Linked DNA regions of Homo sapiens: regions 2, 3 and 4 are each linked to region 1. The links are contacts of gene promoters, found by promoter capture Hi-C in blood cells and fetal thymus (Javierre and others, 2016). All regions are on one chromosome and are shown on one strand. The core of a region is centred on a gene start or on the middle of the fragment in contact, and the rest is flanking DNA. Distances in the headings are between cores, read along the strand shown. Region 1 holds the start of MAST1 (microtubule associated serine/threonine kinase 1). Region 2 overlaps GET3 (guided entry of tail-anchored proteins factor 3, ATPase). Region 3 overlaps BEST2 (bestrophin 2). Region 4 holds the start of SYCE2 (synaptonemal complex central element protein 2).

Region 1 (5,548 bases), core at 1,373-3,872:
AGCTGGGATTACAGGCTCATGCCAACATGCCCGGCTAGTTTTGTATTTTTAGTAGAGAGTGGGTTTCACCATGTTGGCCAGCCTGGTCTTGAACTTCTGACCTCAGGTGATCCACCCGCCTCGGCCTCCCAAAGCGCTGGAATTACAGGCGTGAGCCACCACGCCCTGGGATCTTATATGTAGACAGCATCCTGAGTTCGAATGCCCTGTCTGCAGTGTCAACTATTAATCCTGTGCGGGAGAAGCGGAATCCACTTGGCCGAGCGGCTCTGCAGCTGAGATTGGAGGTGGCGTCTGTTTACACTGACGCCAAAGACCCGAACTTCCGCCGCTCCAGTTTGACCCTTTCTTCGTCCCTAGAATGTTTGGGGGCGCTAGCGGGTGGGGCTGGGTTCCAGGTCTTCTTCGGGTGGTGCTTAAAAGCCCTCCAGGGGCTTACCCTCCAAGGCCGGTTACCCGGATCTGGACACCCTGGGCTCTGTGGCCAGAAAATCCAGGTCTTGATTTCGCTTGGGCCATTGCAGACACGCAGCCAGGTCGACTGGTCCTCATTCACTCCGGTCATGCAAAGACAGAGGGAAAACCTGGTTTGGATTATCGGTCACCCGTGGCTCGGGAGGGCAGGGCTGCCCTTTGGCCCCGCCTATATGTTTGTCCGTTGTACAACGGGGTGGGAGGACGCTGTGGCCCATCCTCTGTCATGCAGCATGTCCCTCCTTAATAACGCCTGTTCTCCAGACTTAGTATTTATTGAGCACTTGCTATGTGCTAGGCACCATGCTAAGGGGCTAGGCATCTGCATCAACTCCTAAGATCCTCAAGGAGACACGGGACTATTGGAAGGTCATTTGCCAAGGTCATAAAAAGCAGAATTGAGATTTGAACCTAGGCTTTTTGCTTTTAGAGATCCTAGAAATGTCTAGGACATCCCTCATTTTCCTTTTGTTGGAGTCCCCTCCAAAGGCCTTTTGAAACTCTCCCCCAAATCTTTCCACCTGCAGCCCCACTCAGTTTCCTTCCTTCCACCTCACCCTGTGGATAGAAAACTGGCTGGCAGGTGTTGCCCCTTGTACCCCATTCCTTTCCTCAGAAAAAAGCCAAGACCCCATATCTCCTGATCCCTACAGTGACTTCCTAAGAGCTTGACAAATGGAAGGTGACCTTCTTCAAATGCAGACACATAAAGTTAATACTCACTAATTATTATTATTGTCATTATAAAAAATGACTATGCGGCCATCACCTGAATTTCCATTTTTATTTTTTTATTTTTTAAACTTTTTATTATTTATTTATTTATTGTTAATTGAGAGGGTGTCTTACTCCAGCAGTGGTGCAATCATAGTTCACTATAACCTCGACCTCCTGAGCTCAAGAGATTCTCCCACCTCAGCCTCCGTGGTTCCCATTTTAAATCTCAGTTGTGAGTCACTCTACTTACCTACCCCCCACCCCCTACCCCAACTCTATGACTCTAGCTGGGAGTCAGATAGATCTGCTGAGGTGTAGATGAGTCATTCATTCTTTCAACCTTTCATTCATTCAACCTTTCATTCATTCATTGAGTACGCTAAGCTTATTCCCGCCTCCAGGCCTTTGCCCTTGCAGTTCCCTCCACCTGGAATGCTCTCTCCACAGATCCTCCCATGGCTGGCTCTTATCTTTCAGCAACCAGCTTAAAAGTCACCTCCACAGAGCAGCCCTGTCTGACAATGTGTCTCCATCCTAGCCATTGTCCATCACATCACCCTGTTTAATTTATTCATAAGACTAATTATTGTCTAAAATGATTTCGTTCACTTCTACACTAATCTTGTTTAATGTCCCCTTTACCCTATAAATACTAGTCCCAAAAGGCCAGAAACTTTTTTTTTTTTCTCCTTGAGACAGAGAGTCTTGCTGTGTTGCCCACGCTGGTGTTTCCTTGGACTCAAGCGATTCTCCTGCCTCAACCTCCCAAGTAGCTGGGACTAGAGGTGCACACCACCACACCGGACTTGTAATTTATTCACTACTGTGTCCCTAGTGCCTAGGATTGGGTCAGCATACAGTAGGTGCTCAAGACATATTTTTCAAATAATGATTCCTATTTCATTTGCACAAACACACGCTGATATGCCAACTCACTTGCCTTTATATGGCGCCCCGCCTGTGTACGTGGGCCTCTGTTGGTCTCTGAGGGTCAGGAGAGGAATCACCCAGGGATCCTCTCCCCCAAGAAACTTGGCCCGCAGTGCATGGCCAAGGGTGAAAGTGACAGTGCTGAAGAGGGGCCTGTCTTACCCTGCTTCTGCTCCTCCAGGGAGTTGATAATGCTTGTGGGCAGCAACGGCAGGTCCACGCTGACCTTCATCGTTTTGCCCCTTTGCCTTCCAGAAGGATTTGCCCCTGCCCCGGAAAAGCAGCAGGTGAGCCTGGGGAGAGACGTGGCGGGGGCTGGCCGCCCCTTCTCCCGCCGGGGTGGGGGCGCCAGGCGAGTGCGCGGGCGGGGCCTGGCTCGCCGGCACGCAGCAGCGCCCCCTCCCGGCCGGCTGCAGCCGCAGGGCCCTCCCCTTCCCTGCCCTCCCCTGCCCGCTGCGGCGGCTGCAGCCTCCGCCCCGCGCGCTTGCTCCCCGCGCCGCCGCCGCCGCCGCCTCCGCCGCTGCTGCCGCACCTGCCACCATGTCGCCGCCGCCGGGTCATGTCTGACTCTCTCTGGACCGCGCTTTCTAATTTCTCGATGCCCTCCTTCCCCGGCGGCAGTATGTTCCGCCGCACCAAGAGGTAGACCCCCGATCCCCTAGACATTGTCCCGGCCCTCCCCGCAAAAGCCGCCGCTCCGGGTACTGCTGCAGGGCGGGGCCCGGGATGCTGCGCCCGGTCCAGCTGCGCCAGAGGTGCCCCAGCTGCGCCTTCCCGCCGGGGTTGGGGTTGAATGGGGGGTGGTGTGGGCCGAGTCTGGGGGGCTTGCACGCTGGAGAGGACGGCCGCGGGGGGAGGGGGCTGCGCCACTGGGGGTTTGTGGCGCCTTTGTCTGCTGGCGCTGCGGGCTCCAACAGCCTGGTGGGGGTAGAGGAAGAAGGGGAGGCTGGGGGGCTTGGCACCCTCAGAACAATAGCCGCAGCCTGGCCTCCCCCCACCCCCATGCCGCGTGCTCCTGGACGCGCTAATATGCTCAGTCACTGCGGCTGTGGGTGAGGGGACGGACGGAGGGGCTTGGGGCTCCCTCTTCGGGAGCTGGATGCTGAGGGGTAGAAAAAAGGGGGGGTTTATCATAACACAACCCCCCCCCCCGAACACAGCCTTACACTGAAAATAGTGACACACAGCGTCACACAGGACATGATGTCACACACATACACACAACAGCCCTAGTGGCCCAGATACACTGGGAGGTGCCACACATACCTAGCCTTGCAGCTGCCACAGGTCAGAACCATGCACAGACACACAGGGGCACCACGTCGTGTACACCTAGTAAGATGTCACTTACATGGCGATCCACACACACACAGTTATGTCATCCAAGATGCAAACATGTGTTTCAATATCCCATCCATGCATCCAAGAATGTCACAACACACGATGTCATATCTAGGTATCTCACATACTATGTCACACTGACATCAGGATAAACAGATGTAGGGATCTTGCAGAGACAGAACCACGCAAAATCACATGTTATCACATTGCAAGACTCACCTAGAGAATGTCAAATGTGGTGACATGTTTGGACACAGTGTCACAAGATGTTAAATTCACACAATAGATGCTACATACACATGGACAAGCATGGTGAATGTCACACCCAGACGGAAGGACAGTATCGGACACAGACTCAGAATGCCACACAAAGACATAGATACATGTAGGGGGGATCATGCATCCTGGCCAGGCATGGTGGCAGGCACCTGTAGTCCCAGCTACTCAGGAGGGTGAGGTGAGGCGGGAGGATTGCTTGAGCCCAGGAGTTTGAGGCTGCAGTGAGCCACTGCACACTGCACTCCAGCCGGGCGACAGAGCGAGACATTGATTTAAAAGAAAAAAAATAATAATAATACAACCTGCCTGTGTTACAGCACACATTGTTATGGACAAGTGGCATTTCACACTGTGTCACATAGACACACAAATGCTCAAATTGTATCACACAAGATAAACCCACGTTGTGTCACACGTATCACACTAGAATGCATTCAGCGTCACACATTGTTGAATTCATACAGTGGATACCACACGTGGATACCTACAGTGAATGTCACGCATAGACTGAGACACGCTCAGTATCACCAATGGTGTCACCTAGACACAGTGACTATCACACCATGACAGACACTGCCCTACACATAATCCATACTGAGAGTTTCTCACACACATGTCATATGCACATCCCCTGCCGTACACAGTCCTGCCGAGGCCTGCACCACCTTTCTTCGAGAAACCCTCCCAGGGAGCCTCCAAACACACATGGATGGGAGATAGGCGGGGATCTGAGACAGGAGGTCAGCTGGTGGGGCTCAAGAACTCACTGGGCTGCGGCCCGGCCCGGCCCCCCTGCCTTACCTTCCCCGCAGCTGCCGCACCAGTAATCGGAAAAGCCTCATCCTGACCAGCACTTCACCCACGCTACCGAGACCCCACTCCCCGCTGCCAGGTCACCTAGGTGAGGCCAGTGGTAGAGACTTGGTGGGTGCAGACTGGCCTACAGTAGGCGGGGCCTCAGGCGAGGAAGCGTGGTCATGCTACAGAAGGGGCGCAGTTTGAATGGAGGCGAACCAGTTTGGATAAGGGGCGGGGCCATGCTTGTGTGGGTGTGGTCAGTCGCAGAGGGACGGTCATTGGGGGGCGGAGACTCAGGTGGGCGGAGACTCAGGTGGGACGGACAGAAAGGAGGAGTCGTACCTGAGGGGCGGGGCCATCCCAGATGAAGCCAGAATCGTCTTGGAAGGGGCCAGGCTGACTCGGCAACGAAAAAATTTAGAGAGGCGGGGCCACAGGCGAAGGGGCGTGGTCTCCCCATAATAGGCGGGACTAGACTAAAGACAGGACATGCTGCTGTTTGCACGCCGCTTTAGGGAACGAGAGACCTGACAGGATTTGCCCCCTCTTTCTCTCATAGGCAGCAGTCCCCTGGACAGCCCCCGAAACTTCTCCCCCAACACCCCCGCCCACTTCTCGTTTGCCTCCTCCCGAAGGTGAGTCCCTCCCCTCCAGGGCCCCAGAACCCTGGGCAGACCCTCCCCAACCACTGTCTGGGCCGCCATCTGTTCTCCTCCTAATTGCACCCGAGCTGGGGCCTGAGGGGACCAGCGAGTGCCCCAAGGTCTCAGCGGGAAGGAGCGCCTAGCCTTCGGGGCGGGGCCTATAAGAAGGCGGGGTCCAATCGCCGATCTGGAACGGGGAAGGCGGTGGGGCTCCCTTTGCGGCAGGTCGAAAGCGCGTGCGCCCTGGGCGCGGGGTCTTAGTCTCTCCGAGCCTTGCTCTCCTGGCCAGGTGTTTCCATAGCAACAGGACGGGGCAGCCAAGATGACGTGCGCAAGCGCAGATTGCGCGATGCCTATCGAGGGAC
Region 2 (5,548 bases), core at 830-3,329, 98 kb before region 1:
AGGGTAGGGGAAGGAGAAGTTGGAGAGACCAATCAGAGCCACATGGTGTGGGACCTTATGGGCCACTAAGAAGTTTGGCATTGACTCCAGGTTATTAACGGGAAGCTGTTTGTTTTAAGCAGGGCAATGTCGTGGCCAAATTCATGTTTGAAAAGTACCCTTTGACGGCCAGGTGGAGATTTAATTGTCAGTCAGGGTAGAAGCAGGGAAACTAACAAGGAGATTGGGGGTGTAACCAGTTGAGAGATGACAACATCCTGGACTCTGGTGGAGGCAGAATGTTGGGGGAGAAGTAGTCAGACTTGAGGTTTTTTTTTTTTTTAGACACTCAAGACTCCTCTGTCTCCCAGGCTGGAGTGCAGTAACCCGATCTAGGCTGACTGCAACCTCCGCCTCCCAGGTTCAAGCAATGCTCCTGCCTCAGCCTCCCGAGTAGCTGGCACTACAGGCTTGCGCCACCACTGCCTGTTAATTTTGTTTTTTTTAGGAGACAGGTTTTCACCATATTGGCCAGGCTGGTCTCAAACTCCTGACCTCAAGTGATCTGACTGCCTCGGCCTCCCACAGTGCTGGGATTACAGGCATGAGCCACCACATCGCACCAGGGATGTATTTTGGAAGTAAACCAGTAAGATTACTTGGGTGAGAAAAAGAAATGAATTGATTACATGTCTTTCTTGTCTCTCTGAGCAGCTGGGATGGGGAAAACTAGGAAAGGAGTAGGTTTAGAATGAACAAATAAAGAATTTCATTTTGTCCACAGTGAATCTGAGTTGCCCACTGGAAATCCAAGTGTAAACATCATGACAGTAGCTTGTTTATGTGAGTCTGGAGCCCAGAGGAGGTTGGCATTGATTTGGAAGTCACTGTCTCAAGGGTGGCATTTAAAGCTGTGTGAGGGCTGGGCATGGTGGCTCATTCCTGTAATCCTAGCACTTTGAGAAGCCAAGGTGGGCGGATCACTTGAGGTCAAGAGTTTGAGACCAGCCTGGCCAACATGGTGAAACCCCATCACTACTAAAAATATAAACCAATTAGCTGGGCATGGTGGCAGGTGCCTGTAATACCAGCTACTCAGAAGGCTAAGGTAGGAGAATCGCTAGAACCCAGGAAGCAGAGATTCTCCTGCCTCAGCCTCCGGAGTTGCTGGGATTACAGGTGCCTACCACCATGCCCGGCTAATTTTTGTATTTTTAGTAGAGACGAGGTTTTCTCACGTCTCAAAAAAAAAAAAAATTGGCTGGGCGCAGTGGCTCACTCCTGTCATCCCAGCACTGTGGGAGACCGAGGCGGGTGGATCACAAGGTCAGGAGATCAAGACCCTCCTGGCTAACACGGTGAAAGCCCATCTCTACTAAAAATACAAAAAATAGCTGGGCATGGTGGCAGGCGCCTTTAGTCCCAGCTGCTCAGGAGGCTGAGGCAGGAGAGTGGCGTGAACCCCGGAGGCGGAGCTTGCAGTGAGCTGAGATCGCGCCACTGCACTCCAGCCTGGGCGACAGAGCAACACTCTGTCTCAAAAAAATAATAAAGGCCGGGCACGGTGGCTCACATCTGTAATCTCAGCACTTTGGGAGGCTGAGGCGGGCAGATCACAAGGTCAAGAGACTGAGACCATCTTGGCTAACACGGTGAAACCTCATCTCTACTAAAAATACAAAAAAATTAGCCAGGTATGGTGGCGGGCACCTGTAGTCCCAGCTACTCCGGAGGCTGAGGCAGGAGAATGGCGTGAACGCGGGAAGTGGACCTTGCAGTGAGCCGAGATCGCGCCACTGCTTTACAGCCTGAACAACGGAGCGAGACTCAACAAAAAATAATAAATAAAAATAAAATAAAATAAAGAGATGCTGCAGAGTGAGGATGCTGGCAGAGGACAGTCCTCAGGTGGGATGAGCTCCATCCAGCATACAGACCCAGAACTTGGGCGCTGCCAGGGTCAGGGACTGGGAGGGAAACAGGAGGAATTGGGGCACTTCCCGGGCAGAGATGAGGGTGTTGGCAGCCAATGGCTTCTCTTTCTCACCAAGGAACAGGCAAGGGTCTCAGCAGTGAATGGGATAGAAGTTTGAGGAGGGAGAAAATACCACATAAACACTTATTAAGGTAGCAGGGGGAACCAGAATTGTCTGGATCATCAAGTGCCCATTGGAGATTTGTGTTCAGAAGAGGGGAGCAAGGGCGGGCGTGGTGGCTCATGCCTGTAATCCCAGCACTTCGGGAGGCTGAGGCAGGTGGATCAGAAGGTCAGGAGTTAAAGACCAGCCTAGCCAAGATGGTGGAACTCCATCTCTACTAAAAATACAAAAATTAGCTGGGCATGGTGGCTCACGCCTGTAATCCCAGCACTCTGGGAGGCCGAGGTGGGCGGATCACAAAGTCAGGAGATTGAGACCAGCCTGGCTAACAGGGTGAAACCCCATCTCTACTAAAAATACAAAAAGTTAGCCGGGCGTGATGGCGGGTGCCTTTAATCCCAGTTATTCGGGAGGCTGAGGCAGGAGAATGGCGTGAACGCGGGAGGTGGAGCTTACAGTGAGCCTAGATCGCGCCACTGCACTCCAGCGTGGGTGACAGAGCAAGACTCCATCTCAAAAAAAAAAATACAAAAATAAGCCAGGCACGGTGGCTCACGCCTGTAATCCCAGCACTTTGGGAGGCTGAGGCGGGCAGATCACCTGAGGTCGGGAGTTCGAGACCAGCCTGACCAATATGGTGAAACCCCGTCTCTACTAAAAATACAAAAATTAGCCTTGCGTGGTGGCCGGCACCTGTAGTCCCAGTTACACGGGAGGCTGAGGCAGGAGAATTGCTTGAACCTGGGAGACGGAGGTTGCAGTGAGCCGAGATCATGCCACTGCACTCCAGCCTGGGATACAGAGCGACACTCCATCTCAAAAAAAAAAAATTAGTTGGGCCTGGTGGTGGGCGCCTGTAATCCCAGATACTCGGGAGGCTGAGGCAAAGAATTGCTTGAACCTGGGAGGCGGAGGTCACAGTGAGTCGAGATTGTGCCACTGTACTCCAACCTGGATGACAGAGCGAGACTCCGTCTCCAAAAGGGTGAGGAGCAAGATGGGAATACTCTTCAGGAGTGTTCGGCCCTCAAGTGCAGTGATACTAAAGAGCTAGAAAGCCATACCTATCATTTCAGTGCTTGCAGAGACTGAGACAAGAGGATCACGTGAGGTCAGGAGTTCAAGACCAGCCTGGGCAACAAAGGGAGACCCTTTCTCTACAAAAAACAAACAAAATTAGCTGGGCATGGTGGTGTGTGCCTATAGTCCCAGTAAGTTGGTAGGTTGAGGCAGGAGGATCATTTGAGCCTAAGAGTTTGAGGCTGCAATGAGCTATGTATGAGATGGTATCTTTTTTTTTTTTTTTTTTGAGACTGAGTTTCACTCTGTCACCCAGGCTGGAGTGCAGTGGTGTGATCTCAGCTCACTGCAACCTCTACCTCCTGAGTTTAAGCGATTCTCCTGCCTCAGCCTCCCAAGTAGCTGTGATTACAGGCGCCCGCCACCACATCCGGCTAATTTTTGTTTTGGGGGGGTTTTTTTTGTTTGTTTTGAGACGGAGTCTTATTCTGTCGCCCAGGATGGAGTGCAGTGGCGCAATCTCGGTTCACTGCAACCTCTTCCTCCCGATTTCAAGTGATTCTCCTGCCTCAGCCTCCCGAGTAGCTGGGACTCCAGGTGCATGCCACCATGCCCGGCTAATTTTTAGTATTTTTAGTAGAGACGGGGTTTCACCATGTTAACCAGGATGGTCTCGATCTCCTGACCTCGTGATCCACCCGCCTTGGCCTCCCAAAGTGCTGGGATTACAGGCGTGAGCCACCGCGCCTGGCCTGTATTTTTTTTTAGTAGAGACGGGGTTTCAACATGTTGGCCAGGCTGTTTTCAATCTCCTGACCTCAAATGATCTGCCTGGCTTGGCTTCCTAATACACTGGGATTACAAGTGTGAGCTACCGCGCCCGGCCAAGACGCTATCTCTAAAAGAAAGAAAAAAAAAGCTGGAAGTAACCAGAGTGGGGGATTTTGCCAACAGCAAGGGGAAAGGGAGTGTTTGCAGAGGGAACCTGTGGAGGCTGGGCTGGATAAGGGTGCCAGCCAAGAGGAACACTGACAGTTTACAGGGGCCAGGTGAGGGGATGAAGTAGTCCAAAGAAGCTTAAAATATATGAAGCATAAGAAGAGGGTGCAGTGATGAGTGGGCAAGCTCCCCAACAGGGAATGACCCCTAAGGCCAGCGAGTTGGGTACTTCCCCATGGGACCCATGAAGTTACCAAGAAGAGGTGACAGAGGAGGAAGATAAAGAGGGAGGCATTGGCCGGGCATGGTGGCTCATACCTGTAATCCCAGCATTTTGGGAGGCTGAGGTGGGTGGATCACCTGAGGTTGGGAGTTGAAAACCAGCCTGACCAACATAGAGAAGCCCCGTCTCTACTAAAAATACAAAATTAGCTGGGGTGGTGGCGCATGCCTGTAATCCCAGCTACTCAGGAAGCTGAGGCAGGAGAATCACTTGAACCCTGGAGGCGGAGGTTGCAGTGAGCCAAGATCACGCCATTGTCCAGCCTAGACAACAAGAGTGAAACTCCATCTCAGAAAAAAAAAAAATTACAAAAATTAGCCAGGCATGGCCAGGCGTGATGGCTCGTGCCTGTAATCCCAGCACTTTGGGAGGCCGAGGTGGGTGGATCACGAGGTCAGGAGATCGCCACCATCCTGGCTAACACAGTGAAACCCCGTCTCTACTAAAAATACAAAAAATTAGCCAGGTGTGGTGGCGGGCGCCTGTAGTCCCAGCTACTCACTGCACTCCAGCCTGGGTGACAGAGCGAGACTCCATCTCTTTTTTTTTTTTTTTTTTTTTTTTGAGATGGAGTCTCGCTCTGTCGCCCAGGCTGGAGTGCAGTGGCGTGATCTCAGCTCACTGCAGGCTCCGCCCCCTGGGGTTCATGCCATTCTCCTGCCTCAGCCTCCCAAGTAGCTGGGACTACAGGCACCCGCCACCTCGCCCGGCTAATTTTTTGTATTTTTAGTAGAGACGGGGTTTCACCGTGTTAGCCAGGATGGTCTCGATCTCCTAACCTCAGGTGATCTGCCTGCCTCGGCCTCCCAAAGTGCTGGGATTACAGGCGTGAGCCACCACGCCCGGCCAAGACTCCATCTCAAAAAAAAAAAAAAAAAAAAAAATTAGCCAGGCATGGTGGGGCATGCCTATAGTCTCAGCTACTCGGGAGGCTGAGGCAGGAGAATTGCTTGAACCCAGAAGGTGGAGGTTGTGATGAGCTGAGATCGCGCCACTGCACTCCAGCCTAGGCAACAAGATCAAAACTCCATCTCGGGAAAAAAAAAAAAAAAAGAGGGAGGCATTGAGTCTGAGACTGGCCAGGGACCCCAGCCATGGCCATCCCTTCATAGATTCTACATACATGTTTGTGTTTTGTTTTGTTGTTTGTTTTTTGAGACAGAGTCTCCCTCTGTCACCCAGGCTGGAGTGTAATGGCGTGATCTCGGCTCACTGTAACCTCTGCCTC
Region 3 (5,548 bases), core at 1,955-4,454, 81 kb before region 1:
CTCCCCTGCAGGCTTTTATGTGACGCTGGTGGTGAACCGCTGGTGGAGCCAGTACCTATGCATGCCGCTGCCCGACGCGCTCATGTGCGTGGTGGCGGGCACCGTGCACGGACGCGACGACCGCGGCCGCCTCTACCGGCGCACACTCATGCGCTACGCAGGGCTCTCGGCCGTGCTCATCCTGCGCTCCGTCAGCACCGCGGTGTTCAAGCGCTTCCCCACCATAGACCACGTGGTGGAGGCTGGTGAGTACTCGGCCAGAGGCAGGGCAGAGACCGGGCAAGGACCAGGTGGAGGGGGGCAAGGGGCGAGCTATCCCTGACCCCTTTCCTCCAGGGTTTATGACCCGCGAGGAGCGCAAGAAGTTTGAAAACCTGAACTCATCCTACAACAAGTACTGGGTGCCCTGCGTCTGGTTCTCCAACCTGGCGGCACAGGCCCGACGCGAGGGCCGCATCCGCGACAACAGCGCCCTTAAGCTGCTGCTCGAGGTGGGCCCAACCAGGAGGTCATTCATATAGAATACCAGGGAAATTGTACCCCTGGAGCTGTGTCAACGGCGGCCCTCCAAGCACCCCCACGAGGCCGATTTCAAACACCCTCACCAGGTGCACTCTTACCTCCATGGGGCTGATTCCAATGCCCTTGAGGGGCAGCTCCTGGGTGCATGGTACCTCATCCAGGTGCACACTCACCACCAAATACCCTCCCTGGAACCCCCAAAGCACACTCCCAATTCCCACCAGGTGACCACCCACCTCCATCCCACGTACCTACACTTAATATCCCTGTGTGAGCTCACCATTCAGGCCTCCTCATGACCTGTATCCACCCCCAGGAGCTGAATGTTTTTCGGGGCAAATGTGGAATGCTCTTTCACTATGACTGGATTAGCGTACCCCTCGTGTACACGCAGGTAACCCCATCATGCCTCTTTTTATATTCGGTGTCAGTGGCCCTGATGCCTGGTTTCCAAGGGGAAACCAAGAACTAGCTAAGACCCCCATCATAATGATGCCTAATCCTAGCCTTGGACCCCAATGACCCCCCTGAGCCCTGCCCCGCCCTGCCCAGGTGGTGACCATCGCACTGTACAGCTACTTCCTGGCTTGCCTCATTGGTCGCCAGTTCCTGGACCCGGCTCAGGGTTACAAAGACCACGACCTAGACCTGTGTGTGCCCATCTTCACCCTCTTGCAGTTCTTCTTCTACGCCGGCTGGCTCAAGGTAGGTGGGTGATCCAGGCTGGAATTTCGTGGGTGGGGCGGGCATGGGGTTCCCAAGTTTCCACCTAACTGCTCCCTCTCCTCTCAGGTAGCTGAGCAGCTCATCAACCCCTTCGGAGAGGACGATGATGACTTTGAGACCAACTTTCTGATCGATAGAAACTTCCAGGTGAGACTCAGTTTCCAGGTGAGACTTCCAGGTGGCGACCATCCCGGAGTGCCCAACAGGGTTCTGGTCCCACCCCTGCCAAGTCTTGCCAGGTCTCACCCCAACCATCCTTCCCTCTGTGGTCCCCACCCACCCGAAGGGGTCCACCCTGTGGTCCCGGCGGGTTGCCCTGCCCCCACTTTACCCTGTGTGTTTGCACCCGTAGGTGTCCATGCTGGCAGTGGACGAGATGTATGATGACCTGGCTGTGCTGGAGAAGGACTTGTACTGGGATGCAGCCGAGGCTCGCGCCCCATACACAGCGGCTACTGTCTTCCAGCTGCGGCAGCCTTCCTTCCAGGGCTCCACCTTTGACATCACGTGAGCCAGTTGGGTGGGCAGGGCCGCCTGGGGCAGGGCTTATGGCTCTGCGGGGCACATCTGATTGAAAAGGTTAAGTGGAATCAATTCTGGAGATGGGGATAAGAGCTAAAGTCTCAGGACTGTGATAACGCCAGAAGCTAAGATAGGAGTCAGGGGACAAGGTCAAGGTCTGAGACTGGGCCACTGACTGGGGACAGAGCTAAGGGCTGAGGTCAGCGAGGATCAGACCGGTCAGTGGTGATTCCAAAGGAGATGAGGGCTGAGGCCAGGAGCACTGGCTCACGCCTGTAATCCCAGTACTTTGGGAGGCTGAGGCAGGAGGATCCTTTGAGCAAGCCCAGGAGTTCAGACCAGCCTGGGCAACATAGTGAGACCCCCGTCTCTACTAAAAATAAAAAATTAGCCAAGCGTGGTGGTGCACGCCTGTAGTCCCAGCTATTCAGGGGCTGAGGTGGGAGGATTGCTTGAGTCGAGGAGTTCGAGGCTGCAGTGAGCCATAATGACACCACTGCACTCCAGCCTGGGCAACAGAGCAAGAGCCTGTCTCAAAAAATGAAAATAAAGGCCAGGCGCAGTGGCTTATGCCTGTAATCCCAGCACTTTGGGAGGCCAAGGCAGGTGGATCACTTGAGGTCAGGAGTTCGAGACCAGCCTGGCCAACATAGTGAAACCCTGTCTCTACTAAAAATACAAAATTAGCCGGGCTTGGTGGCTCACGCCTGTAATCCCAGCTAATCGGGAGGCTGAGGCAGGAGAATCACTTGAACCTGGGAGGCAGAGGTTGCAGTGAGCCGAGATTGCGCCATTGCACTCCAGCCTGGGCCACAAGAGTAAAACTGCATTTCAAAACATAAAAATAGGCCGGGTGCGGTGGCTCACGCCAAGGTGGGCAGATCACGAGGTCAGGGGTTAGAGACTAGCCTGGCCAACATGGTGAAACCCCATCTCTACTAAAAATACAAAAATTAGCCGGTGTGGTGGCACGCACCTGTAGTCGCAGGTACTCAGGAGGCTGAGACAGGAGAATCGCTTGAACCCGGGAGGCGAAGGTTGTGGTGAGCCGAGATTGCGCCACTGTACTCCAGCCTGGGCAACAGAGCGAGACTCCGTCTCAAAATAAAATAAAATAAAATAAAAATAAAAAAGGAAATGGGGCTGAGCCACGACTGAGGTTGAAGATCCAAGTTGAAGTGCAAACACAGGGTGAGGCCAGGCTCTGGGTTTAGGAGCTAAGATCTTTGGGGATAAGTGGGACAAAGCGGTGGGTGGAGTCAGGGAAATCAGCGCGCCTGGGACCCTGCTCTGTCAACAAGAGGCGAGGCCGCAGCGCTGGCCCACTGTCGGTCCCGCAGGCTGGCCAAAGAAGACATGCAGTTCCAGCGGCTGGACGGCTTGGATGGACCGATGGGAGAGGCGCCCGGCGACTTCCTGCAGCGCCTCCTGCCGGCGGGCGCGGGCATGGTCGCGGGAGGCCCGCTGGGCCGGCGCCTGTCCTTTCTACTCCGCAAGAACAGCTGCGTGTCGGAGGCGTCTACTGGGGCCAGCTGCTCATGCGCGGTTGTCCCCGAAGGCGCGGCCCCGGAGTGCAGCTGCGGGGACCCGCTGCTCGACCCCGGCCTGCCGGAGCCCGAGGCCCCGCCCCCTGCGGGTCCCGAACCGCTTACCCTCATCCCTGGGCCTGTCGAGCCCTTCAGCATCGTGACCATGCCCGGGCCCCGGGGTCCGGCGCCACCCTGGCTGCCCAGCCCTATTGGCGAGGAGGAGGAGAATCTGGCCTGAGATCTTAGAGCCCAGCCCCCTAAGGACAGGGAACCAGGTCCCTGCACGGCACCCACGCAGGTGTCCCGGTCTGCATAAGCCTCGTGTGCCTTTGTAAAGTCCACCTACACTTTTGACCAGCTCTCGCTGCCCGCATGTGTTTGGCGCTGTGCTAGGGGCGGGAGTTCTTCCAGACTCTTGGACCAGCCCGCCCTGACCACCAGCTCTACTTCCCAACCCCCACTGCCTGAGAGGTCTCTATCAGTGTCCTGCCTGAATTCTTTCCTTCAAGTGAAGATGTGACTGACTACCTCCTCGAGTTGTCATGAGGATGAAAGAATGGCATTAAAGCATTTGGTATACAGTAGGTGCTCAATAAATTGCTAGTGATTTTTACTCAAACGTTGTTAGTCTGATTTCTCCTGCCAGACATTATCCATTGTCCTAAGTAAAATTTGGGAGTTCTTGCAGGTTCTTTTTTTTTTTTTTTTTTTTGAGACGGAGTCTCTCTCTGTTGCCCAGCCTGGAGTGCAATGGTGTGATTTCTGCTCACTGCAACCTCTGCCTCCCAGGCCCAAGCAATTCTCCTGCCTTAGCCTCCCAAGTATCTGGGATTACAGGCACGCACCACCACACCCAGCTAACTTTTTTTAATTTTTAGTAGAGAGGGGGGTTTCACCATGTTGGCCAGGCTGGTTTCGAACTCTTGACTTCAGGTGATCCACCCACCTCTGCCCCCCAGAGTGCTGGGATTACAGGCGTGAGCCACCAAGCCCTGCTGCAGGTTTCTTCTTTCTTCTTCTTCCTTCTCCTCCTTCTCGTCTTCCTCCTCCTCCACCACAACCACCAGGCCCAGCTTATTCTAGGTTTTTTTTTTTCCTTTGAGACAGAGTCTCACTTCATCACCCAGGCTGGAGTGCAGTGCCACGATCTTGGGTCACTGCAACCTCCACCTCCCTGGTTCAAGGGATTCTTGTGCCTCAGTCCCCCAAGTAACTGGAATTACAGGTGCGCACCACCACACCTGGCTAATTTTTTGTATTTTTAGTAGAGACGGGGTTTCACCTCTTCCAGGTTTTATGATGGTGCCCTGCTTAATTCTTCCCAAACTCTGCTGTCTGAAACACCCACATCAGTGCCCTGGCATTACTCATTAATGAGCCAGCCACTGTCCCAGGATCATGGGTTCTTCTTGCCTCAAGCCTCTGCATTCTCAGGCCCTCAGGGCTTCAGGTTTTACTAATTTAATATCACACGGACTCCTGATGACTCCTGAATATAAAAGTCCAGCCAAGGCAGTGAGCTCTGGTCATGCCACTGCACTCCAGCCTGGGCAACACAGTGAGACCCTGTCTCAAAAAAAAAAAAAAAAAGAGGCCTGGTGCTGCAGTGGGGCTCACACCTGTAATCCCAGCTGGGAGGTGGAGATGGGTGGATCATTTGAGGTCAGGAGCTGGAGACAGGCCTGGCCAACATGGTGAAAGCCCGTCTCTACTAAAAATACAAAAATTAGCCAGGCGAGGTGGTGGGCACCTATAATCTCAGCTACTCAGAGGTTGAAGCAGGAGAATCGCTTGAACCTGAGAGATGGAGGTTGCAGTGAGATTGTGCCACTGCACTCAAGCCTGGGTGGCAACAGAGTGAGACCCCATCTGAAAAAGAAAAAGGAAGAAAAAGAAATCCAGCCAGGATCCCTTCTCTAACTGTAGACCCAGAAAGCCAACTGCCTCTTGGATGCCTCCTTGCAGAGATGTCACAGACACTTCAAACATAACACACTTGAAATCCAGCTCCTAATCAGCCCCCCAATCTGCCCCACCCTGTGTGTTAGCTTTGTCCTTCCAGGTGATAAGGCCAAAAGAAGTCATGTGGATTCCTATTCCCGCCACAGGCCATCACATCAACCCAGTGGCCACACCAACCCAGCAGCAAATCTTATCAGCTTTGCCTTTATTTTTATTTTATTTATTTATTTGTTTTTGAGACGGAGTTTCGCTCTTGTTGCCCAGGCTGGAGCGCAATGGCGCGATCT
Region 4 (5,548 bases), core at 2,061-4,560, 81 kb after region 1:
ATGCAAACAGCAGGAGGGTATGAGCATGTCTGTCTGGAGGACAGGAGTGTCCCTGCTGCCAATCACAATACTGCCATATCAGCCTTTTTTTTTTTTTTTTTCCTCGAGACAGGGTCTCACTCTGTCACCCAGGATGGAGTGCAATGGTGCTATCTTGGCTCACTGCAACCTCTGCCTCCCAGGTTCAAGCAATTCTCCTGCCTCAGGCTCCGGAGTAGCTGGGATTAAAGGCATGCGCCACCACGCCTGGCTAATTTTTTGTATTTTTAGTAGAAACAGGGTTTCACTATGTTGGCCAGGCTGGTCTCGAACTCCTGACCTCGTGATCCGCCTGCCTCGGCCTCCCAAAGTCCTAGGATTACAGGTTGAGCCACTGCGCCCGGCCAACATGAGCCTCCTTCTTGCTCTTTTGAGAACACATCAAGCTTATTCCTACCTGAGGGACTTCATACTTGCGGCCCCCTCTGCGTGGAAGGTTTGGGCCCAGAATGCCTCCTGGCTGGCCTCTTCTCATGTGACCTCTTCAGAGTTCTCCAACTGCTCTAAGGTCCCTGTCACTCTACTTGCTCCTTACTATATTTTGTTTCTTCATTCCACTTACTTGCCACCAGTTGAAATCACATTATTCACTTATTTATTTTTGAGACAGGGTCTTGCTCTTCCAGTGCAGTGAAGCAATCACGTCTCACTGCAGCCTCGACCTCCCAGGCTCAAGTGGTCCTCCCACCTCAGCCTTCCAAGTAGCTAGGGCCACAGGTGTGTGCAACCGCACCACACCACGCTCATTTCTTTCTTTCTTTCTTTCTTTTTTTTCAGAGAGATATGTCTCCCTCTGTTGCCCAGGCTGGTCTCAAACTCCTGGGCTCAAGGGATCCTCCTGCCTTGGCCTCCTGAATAGCCAGGACTACATGCATGCACCACCACGCCTGGCTGATTTTTGTGTTTTTAGTAGAGACGGAGTTTCACCATGTGGGCCAGGCTGGTCTCGAAATCCTGACCTCAAGTTATCTGCCAGCGCCAGCCTCCCAAAGTGCTGGGATTACAGGCGTGAGCCACTGCGCCCAGCCTCTACTATATATATACTTTTTTTTTTTTTTTTTGAGACAGAGTCTTGCTCTGTCACCAAGGCTGGAATGCAATGGCACAATCTTGGCTTACTGCAATCTCTGCCTCCCAGGTTAAAGCAATTCTCCTGCCTCAGCCTTCTGAGTAGCTGGGATTACAAGTGTCTGTCACCATGCCTGGCTAATTTTTGTAGACACAGGGTTTCACCATATTGGCCAGGCTAGTCTCAAACTCCTGACCTCATGATCTGCCTGCCTTGGCCTCCCAAAGTGCTGGGATTACAGGCGTAAGCCACCGTGCCCGGCCTACTAAATTTTTCTTTTTTCTTTTTTTTGAGACGGAGTCTCACTCTGTCACCAGGCTGGCATGCAGTGGCATGATCTCGGCTCACTACAACCTCTGCCTCTGGGGTTCAAGCGATTCTCCTGCCTTAGCCTCCCGAGTAGCTGGGACTACAGGCGTGCACCACAACACCCAGCTAACTTCTGTATTTTTAGTAGAGACGGGGTTTCATCATGTTAGCCAGGATGGTCTCCATCTCTTGACCTTTTGATCCACCCCCCTCGGCCTCCCAAAGTGCTAGGATTACAGGCATAAGCCACCATTCCTGGCTTTTTTTTTTTTTTTTTGAGACAGCGTTTCGGTCTTTTTGCCCAGGCTGGAGTGCAATGGCGCCATCTCAGCTCACTGCAACCTCCACCTCCTGGGTTCAAGCGATTCTCCTGCCTCAGCCTCCTGAGTAGCTGGGATTACAGGCATGTGCCACTATGCCCAGCTAATTTTGTATTTTTAGTAGAGACGGGGTTTCTCCATGTTTGTCAGGCTGGTCTCAAACTCCCGACCTTAGGTGATCCACCCGCCTTGGCCTCCCAAAGTGTTGGGATTACAGGTGTGAACCACTGCACCTGGCCAATATTTTTTAATAAATTGGCCCGACATTCTGGCCCGCCTCTAGTCCCAGCCATTTCGGAGGCTGAGGTGGGAGGATCACTTGAGTCTGGGAGGTGGAGGTTGCAGTGAGCCGTGATCATGCCACTGCGTGGTGACAAAGCAAGACGCTGTGTTAGGAGGGAAAAAAAAAGCAGCAGACACTGGCATAGCCTTGTGGAAGAAAAGGGTGAATGAGAGGGACCCAGGGGCCTGTGTAGACCCATAGGGCTGGGATCTTCCTCACCTAGCTGGCCCTCCACCAGCTTCCTCCTCGCAGTTCTCTTCCCACCGCGGATGCTCCTTGCTCTCCCCCAAGGGCTGCGGTTCCTGGTCTTTGCATTTCACATGGGGCACGTCCACCTGCAAGCACAGTCAGGACGGAGGCCAAGGAGGGAGGATGAGGAGTGAACAGATCGCCCTCCTGCCGACCCTTCAACCCTGGTCACCTCGATGTGCTGCTGCGGGACGGTGGGGACCCGCAGGAAAGACGGGCAGGGCTGGGGCAGGTGCCATGAGGGCAGGGGCATGGGGTGAAAGGACACTCTGTCCCTAGGGGACACCAGGACACCAGACCTAGAGGGGCCGGGTGAGGGCAGGGCTGTGGGAATGTAACTGGAGGACCTGGGCTCCTAACTGGTATGTGTGTTGGCTGGAGTCCTTCGAGAAAGGAGAAGAGGTAGGAGAAAAGAGATGAGGCCGGGCGCGGTGGCTCACGCCTGTAATCCCAGCACTTTGGGAGGCGGAGGCGGGCGGATCACGAGGTCAGGAGTGCGAGAACAGCCTGAGCAATATGGTGAAACCCCGTCTCTACTAAAAATACAAAAATTAGCTGACGTGGTGGTGCGTGCCTGTAATCCCAGCTACTCGGGAGGCTGAGGAAGGAGAATCACTTGAACCCGGGAGGCAGAGGTTGCAGTGAGCCGAGATCACGCCACTGCACTCCAGACTGGGCGACAGAGTGATACTTCGTCTCAAAAAAAAAAAAAAAAAGAAATGAAAGAAACGGGTGCGGTGCGTGGGTGTTTGTGCCTTTCTCTACTCCGTTCCGGCCACGCGCCATGTGTGGAAATCAGACCCGTCAGTGCGTCAGTCAGGGCCGGGTTCAGTCAGTCAGGAAATTTGAGGCCAGGCCTGATGAGAGGGAGCCCCAATGGCAAAGGACAAGCGGCCGGGCTCGGGTCCGCTGGAGATGGCTGGGATCGCAGCCGTTCCCTGCCTATCTGTCCGCCCGCCCCACGCGCGAGAAGGAAACAAGCGCCGCGTACTCCCTGTCGCTCCATTCCGTATTTTCCCGCCTTCAAGCTCGCACCCTCTGCGCATGCGCCGACCCCGCCCCTGGCCAGCTGCGCTCCCGCGGACGAGTGTGTTGTGACGCGTGCTCCCGGCCCCGCCCTCTTTGAGAACTTGCGCGGCCAACTGGGCGGGGCCGACCGTTAAGCAGCAGTTTCGCGGTCCGCGGGCTGCGCGCGCAGTCGGCGCCCCTTGGGAGCAGGACGGCGCGCTCTGGGTGCGCTTGTGTGCCCCTGTGAGGCTCCTGGGTTCCACGGGGCGCCCAGGTTATACGGATCTCAGAGTCCTGTATTTATTCGGTGCTTCTAACTTCATCCACTCTGCCTTGGAAAATATACTCCATAACAATTTTTTTTTTTTTTTGAGACAAGATCTTGGTCTGTCGCCCAGGCTGGAGTGCAGTGGTGCGATCACAGCTCACTGTAGCCTCGACCTCCCAGGTTCAAGCGATCCTCCTGCCTCGGCCTCCTGAGTAGCAGTGTCATTCACCAGGCCCTTCTAATTTAAAAATATTTTTCTGGCCGGGCGCGGTGGCTCACGCCTGTAATCCCAGCACTTTGGGAGGCCGAGGCGGGTGGATCACCTGAGGTCATGAGTTCGAGACCAGCCTAGCCAACATGGTGAAACTGTCTCTACTAAAAATACAAAAAATAGCCGGGCGTGGTGGCGGGCGCCTATAGTCCCAGCTACTCGGGAGGCTGGGGCAGGAGAATTGCTTAAACCCAGGACGCAGAGGTTGCAGTGAGCTGAGATCATGCCACTGCACTCCAGCCGGGGTGACAGAGTAAAGCTCCGTCTCAAAAAAAAAAAAAAGATTGTATGTATATATACACACACACACACACACACACACACACATAATTATATTTTTTTTTCCTGTAGAAATGAGATCTCACTGTGCTGAGCCCAGGCTGATCCCCAACTCCTGGGCTCAAGCCGTCCTCCCGTCTTGGTCTCCCAAAGTGCTGTCTCAAAAAAAGAAGAAATTATCTGATCTACCCTATTGACTGTAGGTCATAAGACCCCCGTTTCAAAGAAGTTTCTGCCCCACACAAGGCCTATCTATCTAGATTCTTCTTGGCCTCTCTGAGCATGCATTCCTGAGACTCCAAGAAGAATCTAGACAGATAGGCCTTGCTGGGTTTCCCCACTCAGCCTATTAGTATTAGACGACCCCCCCGGCTTTTTTTTTTTTTTTTTTTTTTTGTCTTGCTCTGTTGTCCAGGCAACACTGGAGTGCAGTGGCAAGATCTCAACTCGCTGCAACCTTGGCCTCCCAGGTTCAAGCGATTCTCAGCCAACCAAGTAGCTGGGATTACAGATGCACCATGCCCAGCTAATTTTTGTATTTTTAGTAGAGATGGGGTTTTTCCATGTTGCTCAGGCTGGTCTCAAACTCCTGGCCTCAAGTGATCCACCCGCCTCAGCCTCCCAAAGTGTCAGGATTACAAGTATGAACCACGACAAACCCTTTTTGTCCAATCAAATTTCTACCTGGGTGTTCAAACTTTGCTGAACCTAAGCATAAGACACTTTTCATTAATCAGGCATGGTGGCGGGCACCTGTAATCCCAGCTGCTTGGGAAGCTGAGGCTGCTGTGAGCCAAGATCGCCCCTACACTCCAGCCCAGGGAACAGAGCCAGACTCCGTCTCAAAACAAAACAAAACAAAAACACAGTTTCCCCTGTATCTCTGGATCTTCATTCTGAAGGCTTGTCAGGTAACACTATGATCAAATACATTCGTATTCCTTTTCTCTTATTAATCTGCCTTTTCTCAGTAATTTTTAGTGAAACTTCAGAGGGCAATAAGGAAGCTTTCTCTTCACCCCTACACAGCCAAAGTTCAGATTTGATGGAAATGGCAAGATTCCAGGGTACTTGTGTTTATTTAGACACATAAATATGTATTTAACGACAGGGTCTCACTCTGTTGCCCAGGCTGGAGTGCAGTGGTGTAATCACGGCTCATTGCAGCCTCGACCTCCCAGGCTCAAGTGATCAACCTCAGTCTCTGGAGTACCTGGGATTACAGGCATGAGCCACTATGCTGAGCTAATTTTTGTTTTCTGTTTTTGGGGGACAGGTCTCACTCTGTGGCCCAGACTGGAGTGCAGTGGTGTGATCTCAGCTCCCTACAACCTCCACCTCCTGGGTTCAAGTGATTCTCCCACCTCAGCCTCCCAGATAGCTGGGACTACAGGTGCCTGCCATCATGCCTGCTAATTTTTGTTTTTTGTTTTTTTTTTTGGAACAGAGTCTT

The links. Contacts are between HindIII fragments. The CHiCAGO score rates a contact against its expected background, and 5 or more counts as called.
Region 2: a contact is called between a fragment that was not itself captured here and the fragment with the promoter of MAST1 in region 1, in 8 of 17 cell types (erythroblasts, monocytes, naive CD4 T cells and 5 more). The highest score is 9.8, in erythroblasts.
Region 3: a contact is called between a fragment that was not itself captured here and the fragment with the promoter of MAST1 in region 1, in 11 of 17 cell types (monocytes, erythroblasts, total CD8 T cells and 8 more). The highest score is 10.0, in monocytes.
Region 4: the fragment with the promoter of SYCE2 here is called in contact with the fragment with the promoter of MAST1 in region 1 in 1 of 17 cell types (M1 macrophages); the score reaches 5.2 in M1 macrophages.

The regions. Positions count from the first base shown.
Region 1 is chr19:12,835,893-12,841,440 of GRCh38, forward strand. MAST1 (microtubule associated serine/threonine kinase 1) reads left to right here and starts at 2,623. Exons shown (of 26, transcript NM_014975.3): 1 at 2,623-2,763; 2 at 4,554-4,642; 3 at 5,099-5,174. The coding sequence starts at 2,681. RefSeq lists silencers at 2,236-2,419, 2,424-2,603, 2,654-2,703 and an enhancer at 4,610-4,669. The HindIII fragment of the contact is 9,607 bases long and covers 1,574-5,548 here.
Region 2 is chr19:12,738,863-12,744,410 of GRCh38, forward strand. The region is part of intron 2 of GET3 (guided entry of tail-anchored proteins factor 3, ATPase); the gene reads left to right. Among named protein-coding and RNA genes, the nearest start is that of GET3, 4.1 kb to the left of the region's middle. The HindIII fragment of the contact is 4,185 bases long and covers 1-4,172 here.
Region 3 is chr19:12,754,541-12,760,088 of GRCh38, forward strand. It overlaps BEST2 (bestrophin 2), which reads left to right. Exons shown (of 10, transcript NM_017682.3): 4 at 12-245; 5 at 337-491; 6 at 839-916; 7 at 1,075-1,227; 8 at 1,315-1,395; 9 at 1,601-1,755; 10 at 3,111-3,918. The coding sequence ends at 3,537. Among named protein-coding and RNA genes, the nearest start is that of BEST2, 5.5 kb to the left of the region's middle. RefSeq lists silencers at 2,970-3,029, 3,110-3,509. The HindIII fragment of the contact is 8,895 bases long and covers 1-5,548 here.
Region 4 is chr19:12,915,983-12,921,530 of GRCh38, forward strand. It overlaps SYCE2 (synaptonemal complex central element protein 2), which reads right to left and starts at 3,311. Exons shown (of 6, transcript NM_001105578.2): 1 at 3,261-3,311; 2 at 2,240-2,355. The coding sequence starts at 3,275. MIR5695 (microRNA 5695) reads left to right here and starts at 4,338; the gene lies at 4,338-4,422. RefSeq lists an enhancer at 2,991-3,130. The HindIII fragment of the contact is 4,677 bases long and covers 424-5,100 here.